3 separate regions of the Homo sapiens genome follow, and all the other regions are linked to region 1. Evidence: promoter capture Hi-C in 16 types of primary human blood cells and fetal thymus (Javierre and others, 2016). All regions are on one chromosome and are shown on one strand. The core of a region is centred on a gene start or on the middle of the fragment in contact, and the rest is flanking DNA. Distances in the headings are between cores, read along the strand shown.

The links. The method cuts DNA at HindIII sites, captures the fragments that hold promoters and counts their contacts. A CHiCAGO score of 5 or more calls a contact.
Region 2: a fragment that was not itself captured here is called in contact with the fragment with the promoter of TMEM106C in region 1 in 1 of 17 cell types (fetal thymus); the score reaches 5.6 in fetal thymus.
Region 3: a fragment that was not itself captured here is called in contact with the fragment with the promoter of TMEM106C in region 1 in 1 of 17 cell types (naive B cells); the score reaches 5.1 in naive B cells.

The regions. Positions count from the first base shown.
Region 1 is chr12:47,961,391-47,965,989 of GRCh38, forward strand. TMEM106C (transmembrane protein 106C) reads left to right here and starts at 2,206. Exons shown (of 8, transcript NM_001143842.2): 1 at 2,206-2,314; 2 at 2,819-3,033; 3 at 3,892-3,955; 4 at 4,448-4,599. The coding sequence starts at 2,847. The HindIII fragment of the contact is 3,638 bases long and covers 1-3,577 here.
Region 2 is chr12:48,142,933-48,147,531 of GRCh38, forward strand. It overlaps PFKM (phosphofructokinase, muscle), which reads left to right. Exons shown (of 23, transcript NM_000289.6): 18 at 1-14; 19 at 821-882; 20 at 1,114-1,225; 21 at 2,099-2,198; 22 at 2,278-2,383; 23 at 2,632-3,472. The coding sequence ends at 2,776. Among named protein-coding and RNA genes, the nearest start is that of ASB8, 12 kb to the right of the region's middle. RefSeq lists an enhancer at 1-480 and a silencer at 112-286. The HindIII fragment of the contact is 2,143 bases long and covers 925-3,067 here.
Region 3 is chr12:48,122,901-48,127,499 of GRCh38, forward strand. All of the region lies in intron 2 of PFKM (phosphofructokinase, muscle), which reads left to right. Among named protein-coding and RNA genes, the nearest start is that of PFKM, 5.8 kb to the left of the region's middle. The HindIII fragment of the contact is 5,681 bases long and covers 1-4,143 here.

The sequences.
Region 1 (4,599 bases), core at 956-3,455:
GGAGGAACAAGACAAGGTTAGAGGTACCTTGATTCTGAGGCTTGTTTTCTTTTAATTCTCAAAAGCACTCCGTATGCTCAAACACCATATTTTGGGGAATCGTTTTCTGTGACCCAACAGATGAAAAAAAAAAAAACATTTCAAGAAGGAGAAGAGGTGGATCAGAGATGTGAGAGGGGAAGTAGAGGGTCCTTGTTGCCTCTTACTAAAGACTCAGTGGGCTGATTGTGGCCAGTGGTCAGGCAGATGGCTAGACAACAGCAGGTACATTGGCATTCCCCACAGGAGAAAGAGGAAAATACAGAGGTGGCAGAAACCTGAGGGGTCACCAGCCTCAGCCTCACTCTCTATTGCCAAGTGGGCCCCTTATTCATCCCATTTCAGAATATCTCCTCTCCCCTAGCATCATCTTTAATAATTTCACCTGGTTAATGTCTGTACTCAACTCCTGCTGCTGCAGGCTAAGCTCAACCTGGCAGTATGAACAAAGAAACCCACCCATTAAAAAGTACCCTCTAGGCCGGGCACAGTGGCTCACGCCTGTAATCCCAGCACTTTGAGAGGCCAAGGTGGGCAGATCACCTGAGGTCAGGGGTTTGAGGCCAGCCTGGTCAACATGGTGAGACCCGGTCTCCACTAAAAATACAAAAATTAGCCAGGTGTGGAGGTGTGCGCCTGTAATCCCAGCTACTTGTGAGGCTGAGGCAGGAGAATCGCTTGAACCCGGGAGGCGGAGGTTGCAGTGAGCTGAGACTGTGCCACTGTACTCCAGCCTGGTCGACAGAGCAAGACTCCATCTCAAAACAAACGAACAAACAAACAAACGAACGAAAAGTGCTTTCTAACCTCTTACGTACGTGCCTTTTTTGTGGAGGTCTGGGGAAGGGGGGGCCCTACTACCGAATGAATCTACTCCTTGGTGCCTCTTGGCACCTAATTGGCTTGCAAAGCTCAGCTGTGGGGTCCGTTCCTGCGAGAAGCCAGCAGGACTCCCCATGGAAGGTTTCCCCCAGGCTGGGCCCCTCTGACTTGTGAGACTTCCAGCAGCACTTTTATCTACAGTATTGGAGGGGTCTGATGAAGCCTCTGGGTTCCCCTCCTGGACTGAAGACAGGTTCTGATATAATTGCCGGACGGGTTCTCCTTGCCCGTTGCCCAGAGCTGATTCATCAAGACAGGGGAATTGCAATGGAGATTTTAATTCATGCAGAGCCGGCTGAATGAGATACCAGAGTTTTATCACTCAAATAAGTCTCCCCGATAATTCAGAGACTGGGGTTTTTTAAGGATAATTCGGCTGGTAGGTATCAGGCAGTGGGGAGTGCTGATTGGTCAGGTTGGAGATGAAATCATAGGGGGGTCTAAGTGGGTTCTTCTTGCTGTTTTCTGTTCCTGGGTGGGATTGCAGAACTGGCTGAGCCAGATAACTGGTCTAGGTACTGCCAGCTGGTGCCTCAGAATGCAGGGTCTGAAAAATATCCCCAGCACCGATCTTAGATTTTACAATAGTGATGTTATCCCTTGGAGCAATAGGGAAGGTTTGGAATCTTGTGACCTCTGTCTGGATGACTCCTAAACCATAATTTCTAATCTTGTGGCTAATTTGTTAGTCTTACAAAGGCAGTCTGGTCCCCAGGCAAGAAGGGGGTTTGTTTTGGGGAAGGGCTGTTATCTTTGCTTCGAAGTTCAACTATAAACTAAATTCCTCCCAAAGTTAGTTTGGCCTATACCCAGGAATGAACAAGGGCAGTTCGGAGGTTAGAAGCAAGACGGAACTGGGTAAGTCAGATCTCTTTCACTGTCATAATTTTCTCACTTACAATTTTTGCAAAGGCAGTTTATCCGAATGCTCCGCATGTGTGTACCCTCAGCGACTACACAGCTCCTGTACTATAAAGAATATTTCAGAATGGCTTCGGTAGCCGGCAGCACCTTCCTCCTCTCGCAGCAGAGAAGTGTTTTGCTCTGGAAACTTGACTGGAGCCTTTCCCAGCCTATCTAGCGAACAGCAGAGCATCATCCCGACTCCGCGGACTACCGCGGCCCAACAGCAAGGGTCGCGGCTCCCCGGCGCTCTCTGCCGCCCTCTACCGGAACCGAGGGAGCCAGACAGCTGCGATATTGGGAAGGCCTCCGGAGCCGCGAAGAGCGCACGCGCGAGCGCGCGCCCGCGTTCTCCTGGCGGGCTTGGTATTTGGCGCCTGCGCGCTGAGTGCGTGCCGCTCCGCCGACCGAAGAGGCTGGTAAGTCCTCAAGCTGGCAGGTGGTCGGGGGAGCGGCCGGAGAGGAGCTGCCGGGAGTTCGTGCCCTGCAGGTCTGCGACGCTGGCGTTCGCTCCTGCCTGGGCCACTTTGGTGGGCTCAGAGCATCGCTTTTTGCCAAGGGGCGTGACCTGAGCCCGCCTCCTGGGGCTGGGGGGTGGAGAGGAATGGGAATCGTTAAGGCCGGTTATCAATTTGGTGCCTGTTTGTTGCTCGAGGAGGGGCATAGAGCTTACAAATAGTGAAGAGGAAGGGGCGAGGCTGGACCAGGTGGGAGCGGGGGTGCCCCAAGTCCCAGGGCGGTGAGGATCGAGGCAGGTGCGTGAAAGGCAGGCCCCGTTCCCCCTCCCCACCCCCGCCGGCTGTGTGTGGCGGGTAAGAGGAGAGTGGGTAGCACTACTACAAAATGAGGGTCCCGATAGAAATCGTACAGGTGTTGGGACCACACTCAGGGCGGCAACTTGTCATTTTTGCGTTTTTAATTTTCTTATAGAAACAAGCGATTTCTGTCGTGATTCACTGGGGCCGCTAACGTGCACTCCCTCTTTTCATCTTAGGACATGACACCAGTGGCATATCACGGCCATGGGGTCTCAGCATTCCGCTGCTGCTCGCCCCTCCTCCTGCAGGCGAAAGCAAGAAGATGACAGGGACGGTTTGCTGGCTGAACGAGAGCAGGAAGAAGCCATTGCTCAGTTCCCATATGTGGAATTCACCGGGAGAGATAGCATCACCTGTCTCACGTGCCAGGGGACAGGCTACATTCCAACAGGTGATCATGGAGGGATGATTCCCTGATGAGAATCCCAAGGTACCCTCGGAGTTCTCCTGTCTGCCCAGACAACTTTTCTTCTAGGCAGTAATACCATAATAGAGACAGTGCCCTGGACAGGAGCCAGCTCAACTGACTTAATACACTTGGGCAGTTCTGCAACTTCTCTTCCTCTCCTTATTTTTCCAACCCTTTCTTTTCTTTACCGCCACTCTTGTTCTTTTCCTGAGGTTTGGAACATTCAGTTCGCTCTGTGTTGTGGGATTTGTTGACAGGCACATTTCTTTATCGCTGTCACAAGGATTGGGACAGCTTTGCGGGGGAACCATCTTGGAAGCTGCTTTTCAAGGAAATGGGTAGCTAATCCTTAACAGCCTAAGGTCAGAAAAATATATCAGGTCAAGAGAGAGAGACAAATACTTAGCCTTGGTACAGGATCATCTATTACTATTAACAAATTGGCCCTCAGAAAGTCTTTAACAGTTTAGCTGGAGAGTCACAGAAATTTAGAGCTGGTTAGGACCTTCAAAATCATTTACTCCAAAGCTTCCATATGAAAGGCAAGGAAACCATGGCCTTGAGAGATTCGACGACTCTGCCAAGCCCATGCAGTAAAGCCAGAACAGGATCCCAGGTTTTTCAACTTCCACATCACTACCCTGGCAGCACTGATAGATGTTTTATAATTTGTGGCACTCTCTTGTTTCTTGTTCATTAGACCCAACATGTGAATTTCACTAGTATTTTTTAAAATGTCTCATTCCAGAAGAATATTTGTTGTGGCAGGCTCAAGTGAGACGTGAAGGAAGTACTGCCAACACATGGGATTTACAAAATAATTGTTTGGCTCTTTTCTAGAGCAAGTAAATGAGTTGGTGGCTTTGATCCCACACAGTGATCAGAGATTGCGCCCTCAGCGAACGTGAGTTACCTGCTTCTCACCTGTTAATACCTACTTCTGTCCCTAATCTCTTTCTGTATGTATGAATGCCAGTTAATTCTTTGAAAACTACACATGTTCTTATAAGTTCCCCATTTTCCTTATAACTGTTTGCCCAAGCAAGATATCTCTGCCCCCATCACAATCTGGGGAAAGAAACTTGAAGCTGGAAATGCTTTGAAGGTCAAGGAATGGAATCAGAAGAAACTGGGAAAGTGGAGTGTTCTGGGAGGTGTGGGACTGTCTCTGTCCACATAGCTCCTTTCTTCAGCTTTTCTTCCCAGAGTGCAAACAGTGTTTAAAGGAGTTTTAAAAGGTTTCTCCTGCTTCACTGCTTCTTAACTGGTTTATGGTTCCTGGCTCTTGGAACTTCCCTTTCAGCTCCCTTCTCTTTCCTGGTTTTGTGTTTAATCTTGACACATTGAACCTTGATATCTGACTGCCTGGGTCGGTCATGTGCTGTGTCATTTGCAGTAAGCAATATGTCCTCCTGTCCATCCTGCTTTGTCTCCTGGCATCTGGTTTGGTGGTTTTCTTCCTGTTTCCGCATTCAGTCCTTGTGGATGATGACGGCATCAAAGTGGTGAAAGTCACATTTAATAAGCAAGACTCCCTTGTAATTCTCA
Region 2 (4,599 bases), core at 746-3,245, 180 kb after region 1:
TTCGAGACCTGCAGGTAGCTGGCCACCCAGAGCCTGCTAGATAGCTCTCCCCTGTCTCCAGACTGTTTCCACAGTGATCTGAACTATGAGAGCTCAAGTTGAGGACCGAGCTGATTGGTCTGTAGAATCCTGTGAAGACCAGAAAGAGCACTATGCAGGCATTCTCTGGTGTCACCTCATATGCATGACCGCAGCTACTGTTGTTGGAATGCTGATTTTGAGTCAGGCGACCTGGTGCTAAGCCCTTTATGGGCATTTTTGCATTTTATCTTCACAATAGACATGCAAAGAAGATACTATCTCCATATAACATAGAAAGTTTAGAGAGGTTAAAAAACTTTTCTAAACTCCTAAGTGAGCAGATGGTTTAAGTGGTTGAGAAAGTCAGTGATCTTTTTACTACATCATGTCTCCCCTTCAGATTTCCCTTGCTGTCATTCTGCTTTTGAGAGAGATACTCTCTCAAAACAGAGATATAAAGTGTCAACACTGACACTGTGACCACAAGTCAGCCCTCTGAGGCAAGGGGAACCAGAAAGGCTTGGAAAGGGAGATTGGAGAGGGTGAGGGGCTGAACACTGACAGTTACTGCAGCTGTCTGTAGTGCTCCCTCTTCCAGTTCTGTCTCATTTGGAGTCATTGTTTAAATTTCAGTCCACACTGAGCTTCTTACAGGAATTAGGCACAGTTCAGGCCCAGGATTGTAAACAACTCTCTTCCATGTGTCTCTTCCTTCCTGGAGAGGTGTGGTGTGGAAGATGATTTATACCCAACCTTATCCATTCCCAGTTAGGCTTAGGATTTACTCTTTCATTTTCAGGCAAATGTTGAACATCTGGTGCAAAAGATGAAAACAACTGTGAAAAGGGGCTTGGTGTTAAGGTACCTCATCCATGGTTTGTTCCTAAATGAAGAAGAAAAATAAGCTTTGGCTCAAACCCATAGAATGGCCATTGTTGGGACACCCTGAGGAATCTGTAGATATAAAGGGAGGGGGCCAGCCTATCCCTTGAATCCTTGGAGGAGATAAAAATTGAAAGGAAAGAACAAAGGCAGAAATGGGGGATGGGAAGCCAACCACAGAGTCACAGGCTTTTGGTCTCCACCTGGCAGGAATGAAAAGTGCAATGAGAACTATACCACTGACTTCATTTTCAACCTGTACTCTGAGGAGGGGAAGGGCATCTTCGACAGCAGGAAGAATGTGCTTGGTCACATGCAGCAGGTAGGGAAGACACCGTAGTCATGCCCTTCATCAGACAGCCATACCTGCCAACAGCCATACCTGCCAACAGCCACTGAGGCTTCCACTGGCCTTTTCCAGTCTTCTGGAGGAGCCTGTCAGTGCCATCATAGAGCATGGGCCTGCAGTCTCTTACAGTCATAGAATCAAAACATCTTTATCCTGGAAATGACTTTAGAGATTATATGGTCTATCCTTTTCAAAAGCCCTCATGGGAGGGCTTTTCAACCTTGGCAGCTTTGCCTTTTGGGGCTGGATGATAATTTGTCATGGGTGGCTGTTCTATGCACTGTAGGACAGTTGCACAGCATCCCTGGTCTCTACCCACTAGATGCCAGTAGCACCTCCCTCTCACTCCCAATTGTAACAAAAATGTCTCCAAACATTCCCACTTTCCCACCTGCTTCCTCTTAATTCAAAGGAAATCTGTATGATGTTTTATATTAATTCTGAGGTGCTACCAAGGGCAGCCAGATTGGGCCACAAAAAAAACACTTTTATGTCATCATTGACAGTGATCAACAAAAGCTGCTGGGCTGAAGAGGGGCAGGCAGCTGACCCATTGGCCAATAAAACTAAAACAGGATCTGGCAGCTGTGGAGCTAAAAGAGGGGATTGTGGGGCCAATCATCTTTAATTAGTTGTTATTATATCTGATACATGGCCAAATTTGCTGGGCCAGCTTGCCTTGGATCCTGGCACTGCCTCAGGGCACCCTTTCATAGTTTGACTTCTGGATTCCTGTTTTGGGCTGTAAGCCTGGGGCCCATCTTTCTTTTTTTCTCTGTGTGTCTAGATATCTCTGCCACTTCATTAGAGTCCTTCCCTCTGTAATTTTTATGTTTCTTTCTCCAGGGTGGGAGCCCAACCCCATTTGATAGGAATTTTGCCACTAAGATGGGCGCCAAGGCTATGAACTGGATGTCTGGGAAAATCAAAGAGAGTTACCGTAATGGTAGGTGGGGTGAGAGCGAGTGCCCTCTATAGAGGCTGGTTCCCCAGTATAGAAGCTGACTGCCCATCCCTCATTGCAGGGCGGATCTTTGCCAATACTCCAGATTCGGGCTGTGTTCTGGGGATGCGTAAGAGGGCTCTGGTCTTCCAACCAGTGGCTGAGCTGAAGGACCAGACAGATTTTGAGTGAGTACATCTGCTTCCTGGAGTGGTTCTTTTCCCTGGTAGTTTCAAGCTCTACTGTCCTCAACCTGTTCACTGTCTTTAATTCTTTTTTTTTTTTAAGGAGTAACACCTGTATTCTTACCCATTTCAGATGTGATGCACATGTCCTAAATCTAACCTCTTCTGTCTAACTTCTTCCTATAAACCTTTGGTAGAAGTTGATTGGGGTGCTAAAAGATTATATCATCATCTACCTCATTCCTCTGTAGGCATCGAATCCCCAAGGAACAGTGGTGGCTGAAACTGAGGCCCATCCTCAAAATCCTAGCCAAGTACGAGATTGACTTGGACACTTCAGACCATGCCCACCTGGAGCACATCACCCGGAAGCGGTCCGGGGAAGCTGCCGTCTAAACCTCTCTGGAGTGAGGGGAATAGATTACCTGATCATGGTCAGCTCACACCCTAATAAGTCCACATCTTCTCAGTGTTTTAGCTGTTTTTTTCATTAGGTTTCCTTTTATTCTGTACCTTGCAGCCATGACCAGTTCTGGCCAGGAGCTGGAGGAGCAGGCAGTGGGTGGGAGCTCCTTTTAGGTAGAATTTAACATGACTTCTGCCCCAGCTTTATCTGTCACACAAGGCTGGGCACCTCTAGTGCTACTGCTAGATATCACTTACTCAGTTAGAATTTTCCTAAAAATAAGCTTTATTTATTTCTTTGTGATAACAAAGAGTCTTGGTTCCTCTACTACTTTTACTACAGTGACAAATTGTAACTACACTAATAAATGCCAACTGGTCACTGTGCTTTTGCTTCTCCTGTTATCATCTTCCTAAGTGGAATGTAATACTGTCAGCCCCATGTATCAGACACTTGTCTGATGAAGCAGTAAAGACGTTAAGGGTATCACAGGGGGTGGAGGAAGGGATTATCTCTAGTACACTACTTGCTGGCTGTCTGAAAAATTGTCACTGCCAAACTCTAAAAACAGTTCTAAATAGTGACTGAGAAGGTTTGTTGCTGGAGTCAGGGAATAAGGCAGCCAAATACTCTTTGCACAGTTCTTTAGTGGGAAGAGAAATTAACAATAAATATCAAGCACTGTGGTAGGCATTTCATCATTGAATCCTCATAGTAGCTTTTGGAGGGCAATGGTGACAGCCTGACTTCAGAAAGGAGGACACTGGAGCTCAAGGTGATTGATTACATAATGTCTCCTTCAATATTATTCAAGTAGAACTCAAACTCAGTTCTGACTTCAAACCTCATCCTCATTCCCCATTCCTGCTTCCTTATCATGCCATATCAAATCCCCAGAGCCATAAGGCCTATGAAAACAAAGTGAAAGGGAAGGTTCAGGCATTCATTCAGAACATTTTAAATGCTAATTGCCATTGATTTATAGGTTCTCTGTCTCTTTCCTGTCTTTAATCTTAGAGCTGTTTCCTCAAGAAAATGAAGAGGGAAGGATGGCTCAGGGAAAGTTAATCAGAGGGAAAATGTCACTCTGTAAAGAGTAAAAAATTTAGGATGATGATACGATCTGGGAAAAAAAGGCATAGTGAAGACCACTTAAAAACAAACAAAAAAAACCTATGAAGGTGCATGCTATTTCCCCAGAGCTAAAAAGATAAGTGAAATTGTGTTTGAACTCTTAAGTGGAGGTGAAGCAGAATTTATTAGCCACCAACCACATAAGTGATTATGAAGTAACTGAGAAACAGGTAACATTTTTTCCCACATGGACAAAACTTTCTCTTTCTAGAATATTAAGTATCTATGATGAGAAATGAAGTAGCATCTCAAGCAGTTTATAAATCTACCAGAATATTAGAATCACCTGGGACCTTTGAACGTACTCATGCCCAGGTCTACTTTATTCATTTATTTTTTTGTAGAGATGGGGACTTCAACTCCTGGTCTCAAATGATCCTCCCACCTCGGCCTCCTAAAGTGTGAGGATTACAGGCGTGAGCCACTGTGGCCAGCCCTACTAGGTCTGCTTTGGACCAATTAAATCAATCTCTGGGGGTGGAGCCTGGGCTTTAGTATTTTTAAAAATTTTCCTAGGTGGTTCTAATTAATAACTAGGATTGAGAACCACTGACTAACACAGTGGAATCTCATTCCTGGCTATATTTGAAGCACTGAAGCCCCCAGTCCTACCCCAGAAAATTCCAAAGAATTGGTATGAGGTGAAATCTTGGCACCAGTGTTTTTAAAAAGCTTCCTT
Region 3 (4,599 bases), core at 53-2,552, 160 kb after region 1:
GGAATTTACTGACTCCCTTAGCCTATACAATAGAATTATTCTTCTGTAGGTTCACGGGAATTTTGGGCTTTGCTAAAAATTTCTGTGAGGCCTAAGTCCTCAAGTGCATTTGAATTTTATTTGCCATGCGTTTATTTACCCACATCTTCATAAAACTTATTTCCAAGTTTCTTTGAAGACAGGGGGCTCTTTTGGTCTTTGGGAACCTAAAAGAGTGGTGTTTTCTCAAGCAGCATTGGAAAGAAACTAAAGAGATAAAGTTATTGAGAAGGCAGTAAGTGGATTAACTTCATGTACTTTGGTAATGGTGGGGATGGGAGGAGACCCAGAATTAGTATATGGTGGGTCCCAACTAGGTCTTCAGGTATTAACTCTGATGTCTGGAGAGTTCCTGCACTGACCAAGGTCAGTCAGGCACTCGGTTTTCTCTGGCCTTTCCTCCTCTTCCCTTTCATCACCCCTTGAACAAATAGGAACAGCAGCAGTTAATCAATACAGATCCGGTATGAGGTGGAGGGGCAGAAAACAGAGCCAGCAAAAACCCTTTTCTAGGTTGAATTTAAGAAACCTGGGAGTCACGAAAATTAGGTATATAGGAAACACGGAGTGGGAGTAAGAGGGTATTGATTTTTTTAAAAAAAACTTTTTCTCCTTTGATCTTCTGATATATTCTGATACATTGAAAAGAGGTAGAATTTCTTTGAAAAGGATACATGACATGGAGACAATTAGAAAGAGAGAAGGAAAGCGATTTCAGCTAGGCTCCCCTCCTCTGCACCACTGTTCCTAGGCTTTTTTAGACTTTGCGCTAAGGACCCACTTTGTATAGAGCCCTGTCTTGTATGTTTTGAAGAAGTTGAATTCCTTTAGGAATTTATAGTTTAATGAGGAAACTAGAATTCTTACATAAGGCACATAAATAAAAATAAGCAAGTGTGCATTAACCAAGTGGAATCTACTTACATAATGAAATGATAGCCTCTGATTGAATTAATCAGTGAAAACTTCATGGAGAAGGTAGATTTCAAGACACTGAACTCTTTATTTAAGTAAGGTGCTTAGAACAGTAGCAGGCACATCGTAAATACTCAATACATGTGATCATTAATTAAAAATGAATTAGTGAGTATCTACTGTGTCAATCAGGATGATGATGAGGTTCACCAGTGATACATCAGTGAAAAAGTCTGACGCAATCTTTGTTCTTATGATACTTATTAGTATATTAGTAAAGCTAGACTTTTTAAACTAATATTTATTATAATTGTGATATAGGTTATGAATCAGAAAGTGCTAGAATGAAGAAACTGAGGAAGGAGGGTACGGAGGTCTGAGTTTAGGAATAGTGACCAGATTAGGAATGCAGAGCCCTAGTTGAGTTTGCAGAAACCACAGATCTGGCTTTTATTGCATCTGTCTTCTCTGCTGGCAGAGTACCATGCCAATACTGAATTCTTTAACATGTACTTGAGCATTGATCCTGAAACCTTGGTAGAATGATCTGTGGACCCAGATTGTCAGATTAGGGGAAGAAAGAAGAAAGCCTGCTAAACAAACCAAGTGAGATGCACAGAGTTATAAAATGAAGAAGAGCTTTTTAGAGAGGGAAAGAGAGAAAGAAAGGTCAGACTAGGATTTAACTTGGGTCTCAGAGCAGCAGAGCCCTTCCACCTTCTGATCCTGAGCAGTGAGACCCTCTTATTCTAGTGAAGACCATAACTCACTGCTGTAAGAAAAAGACCCTGTTTTATGGAGGCAGGGACTATAGATAAGCTGATTTCTGAAGGACCCAGCTGATAGGCACAGTGTAGCCAGGGAAATAGCCCACCTGCAAATCCCCATAACATCACAGCCACATGTCACTAGGGATTGAGAGTGATAGAAACTGAAATTCTATGGAGGCAAGGAGGCAAAACAGAAAACTCAAAATAGAGCTGAGAGGTCCTAGCTGAAGGAGAAGCTCAAATTCAGAAGTCGCCTGCCCAGAGCTGAGTTTGATGGACTCTAGTTCTCCCGGGGAGAAAACATAGAAATGTTTTGTTTTGTTTTTTTTCCCTTAGGGCTTGTGGGCCACATGGGAAAGTGAGATTGAGCTGTGTAAAATCCATAGAGGTCACAGCTTTGTCATTCTCCAAATTCAGCAAAGCTAATCATCTCTTGAGGTAGAAAAATGGCCAGGAATCAGACATCCTGAGCTCAAAAACAAAGAACTCTGGGATGCTGGGCTGATGCCGTACCAAATCCTAATTCCCTTTCCAGCCTAGGAATGGCTTCAGCCGCCAAAACTATGCTACCTTTAGCCTTATGACATCGGCATATTCTACCCCTGGAAAGGACCTCAGTCAGTCATCTGCTCTGGCCCTCTGTCTCCAGATAGCCAGCCATTACAAATGTATGTTTATCTTTTTGATTTTTTTTTTTAAGAGATGGGACGGGATCGGCCAGGTGCAGTGGCTCACACCTGTAATCCCAGGACTTTGGGAGGCCGAGGCGGGCAGATCACCCGAGGTTGGGAGTTCGAGACCAGCCTGACCAACATGGAGAAACCCCGTCTCTACTAAAAATACAAAATTAGCTGGGCGTGGTGGTGCATGCCTGTAATCCCAGCCACTTGGGAGGCTGAGGCAGGAGAATCGCTTGAACCCGGGAGGCAGAGGTTGCGGTGAGTCGAGATCACACCATTGCACTCCAGCCTGGGCAACAAGAGTGAAACTCTGTCTCAAAAAAAAAAAAAAAAAAAGATGGGAAGGGATCTTTTTATGTTGCCCAGGCTGGTCTTGAACTCCTGGCTCAAGCAATCCTCTTGCCTCAGCCTCTCAAGTAGCTGAGACCACAGGCCATGTGCCACCACACCTGGCCTTTTCTATTTTTAAAGGTTCGCACGAACAGAGATCCTTTTACCTCTCTGGCTTGCTATTCTAAGGTTTATAATTTTTACTTATGATATCCATTAGGAAGTGCAATTCATCTCTAACAAATGTTTATTCCTCATATATTTTTAAAAATCTTATGAAAGTTAAGGCAGAAATAAATTATTTAGTATCAGCTTTAAAGTCATGCTCAAGTCATTTATTAGATTTTTTTTCTGTCTAGTCTCATAGAGACCCATTACCCACAGTTCTTCTTTCTAAAACCTCTTCCCAATATGCCGTAATTGGAGACTCCAAACTACGTGCTTATGATGTTCTCCAGAACCCCTCCTGACTACACCCAGAATACCTACTGGATGGTGCCTGTAATCTTATCCTTCGTCTTGCTTCTAATAAGTCAGACAACTGCCATGGAGGGTTATTTAGGGCAACATGGAACAGCCAAGGAGACTCTGGCCAGGACTGGCTTGGGGCCAGACTAAGCTAGTCAGGTTGGCTAGGAGAGCTCAAAGAATTACCGGGGCTCCTTAATATAAACTATTTGTATACCCCAAAGTTTGTGATTTTTAGGGAACTAGGGGTTTGAGGCATAGGTACCAGGTACATGAAGAGCATCCTAAAGTTTGGTTTCTAGGAAAACACTCAGATATTCAAGTTGGAGACAGGATGAATGACTTCTGGAAGTTGGTAGAGTTGAGGTAAGAAGAAGGCAGAGGGAGAAGAGAATTTCCTTATTGTGAGATTTTTTTTGTATGCCCAACAGATTTGGATAGTCCCTGCCCACCATCTGTTGTTTGCTTTTGTACTGAAAACGTTCGGAGTCACTTGTCTCTCTTAACCCTGGGTATACCAACAGGATTGCATTAAGTTAGAGTTTTTACAGGACCATTTACTCAGCTTGGGAACAGGAAACAATGTTCCAACCTATACATTTCAGAACAATTTTTTCCCTTATTTCCTGAAATTACAAATTCATACTCCAGAACTCCAGGTATCCAGAAGAGAATCCCATAGGCCTTGTGAAAGACTGGAAAACAAACTTTAGTTTCATATCTATTCTGATCTTATTGAGCTAACTTTATTCATCTTTCCTAAAGCATTGAAGGCTTTGTGTTGACTTTTGACCTTGTTCCTTTCACACACATAGGCTATTCCTCAAGCTACTGAGAAGCCCCTCTCTTCACAGATTTTTTGGTTTTGATGCCTTCAACTTAAGGTTGTGAACTTAGGCTTCTAGACTTCATGGGGCTTTGCCTTAGTGATGTCATAAGTAAGCTTTGACATCAGTGCTCACCAATGGCTTCTTGTTGACAAGCCCAAACTTTCAGGCCTTACCTTAGATCAGTTATCAGAAGCATTTGGCACTGTTCCAACTTCTTGAAACTGTCCACTTTTGGCTTCTAAGACATTGCTAAATCCTGGTTCTTTTGTATTTCTTGCTGCCCCTTATTAGTTTTTATCATGGAACCCCCCTTCCCCTTCCTGTTCCTTCAATGTTGGTTTTCCTCAGGGTTGCATTCCTTGCCCCTTTCCCTTATAATTCTGCATATTCTCTTGAGATAGTCTCTTCTGTGTTCACATGGATACTCCACAAGAACTTCAAACAGCATATCCAAATATGAATGTATCACCCCCACTGCCACCTGCCCAAACCAAAACCTGCCTCTGCTGAGTCAGTGGACCACGCTTTTACCCTTTGTCTAAATCAATCACGGGACATTTTCTCCTT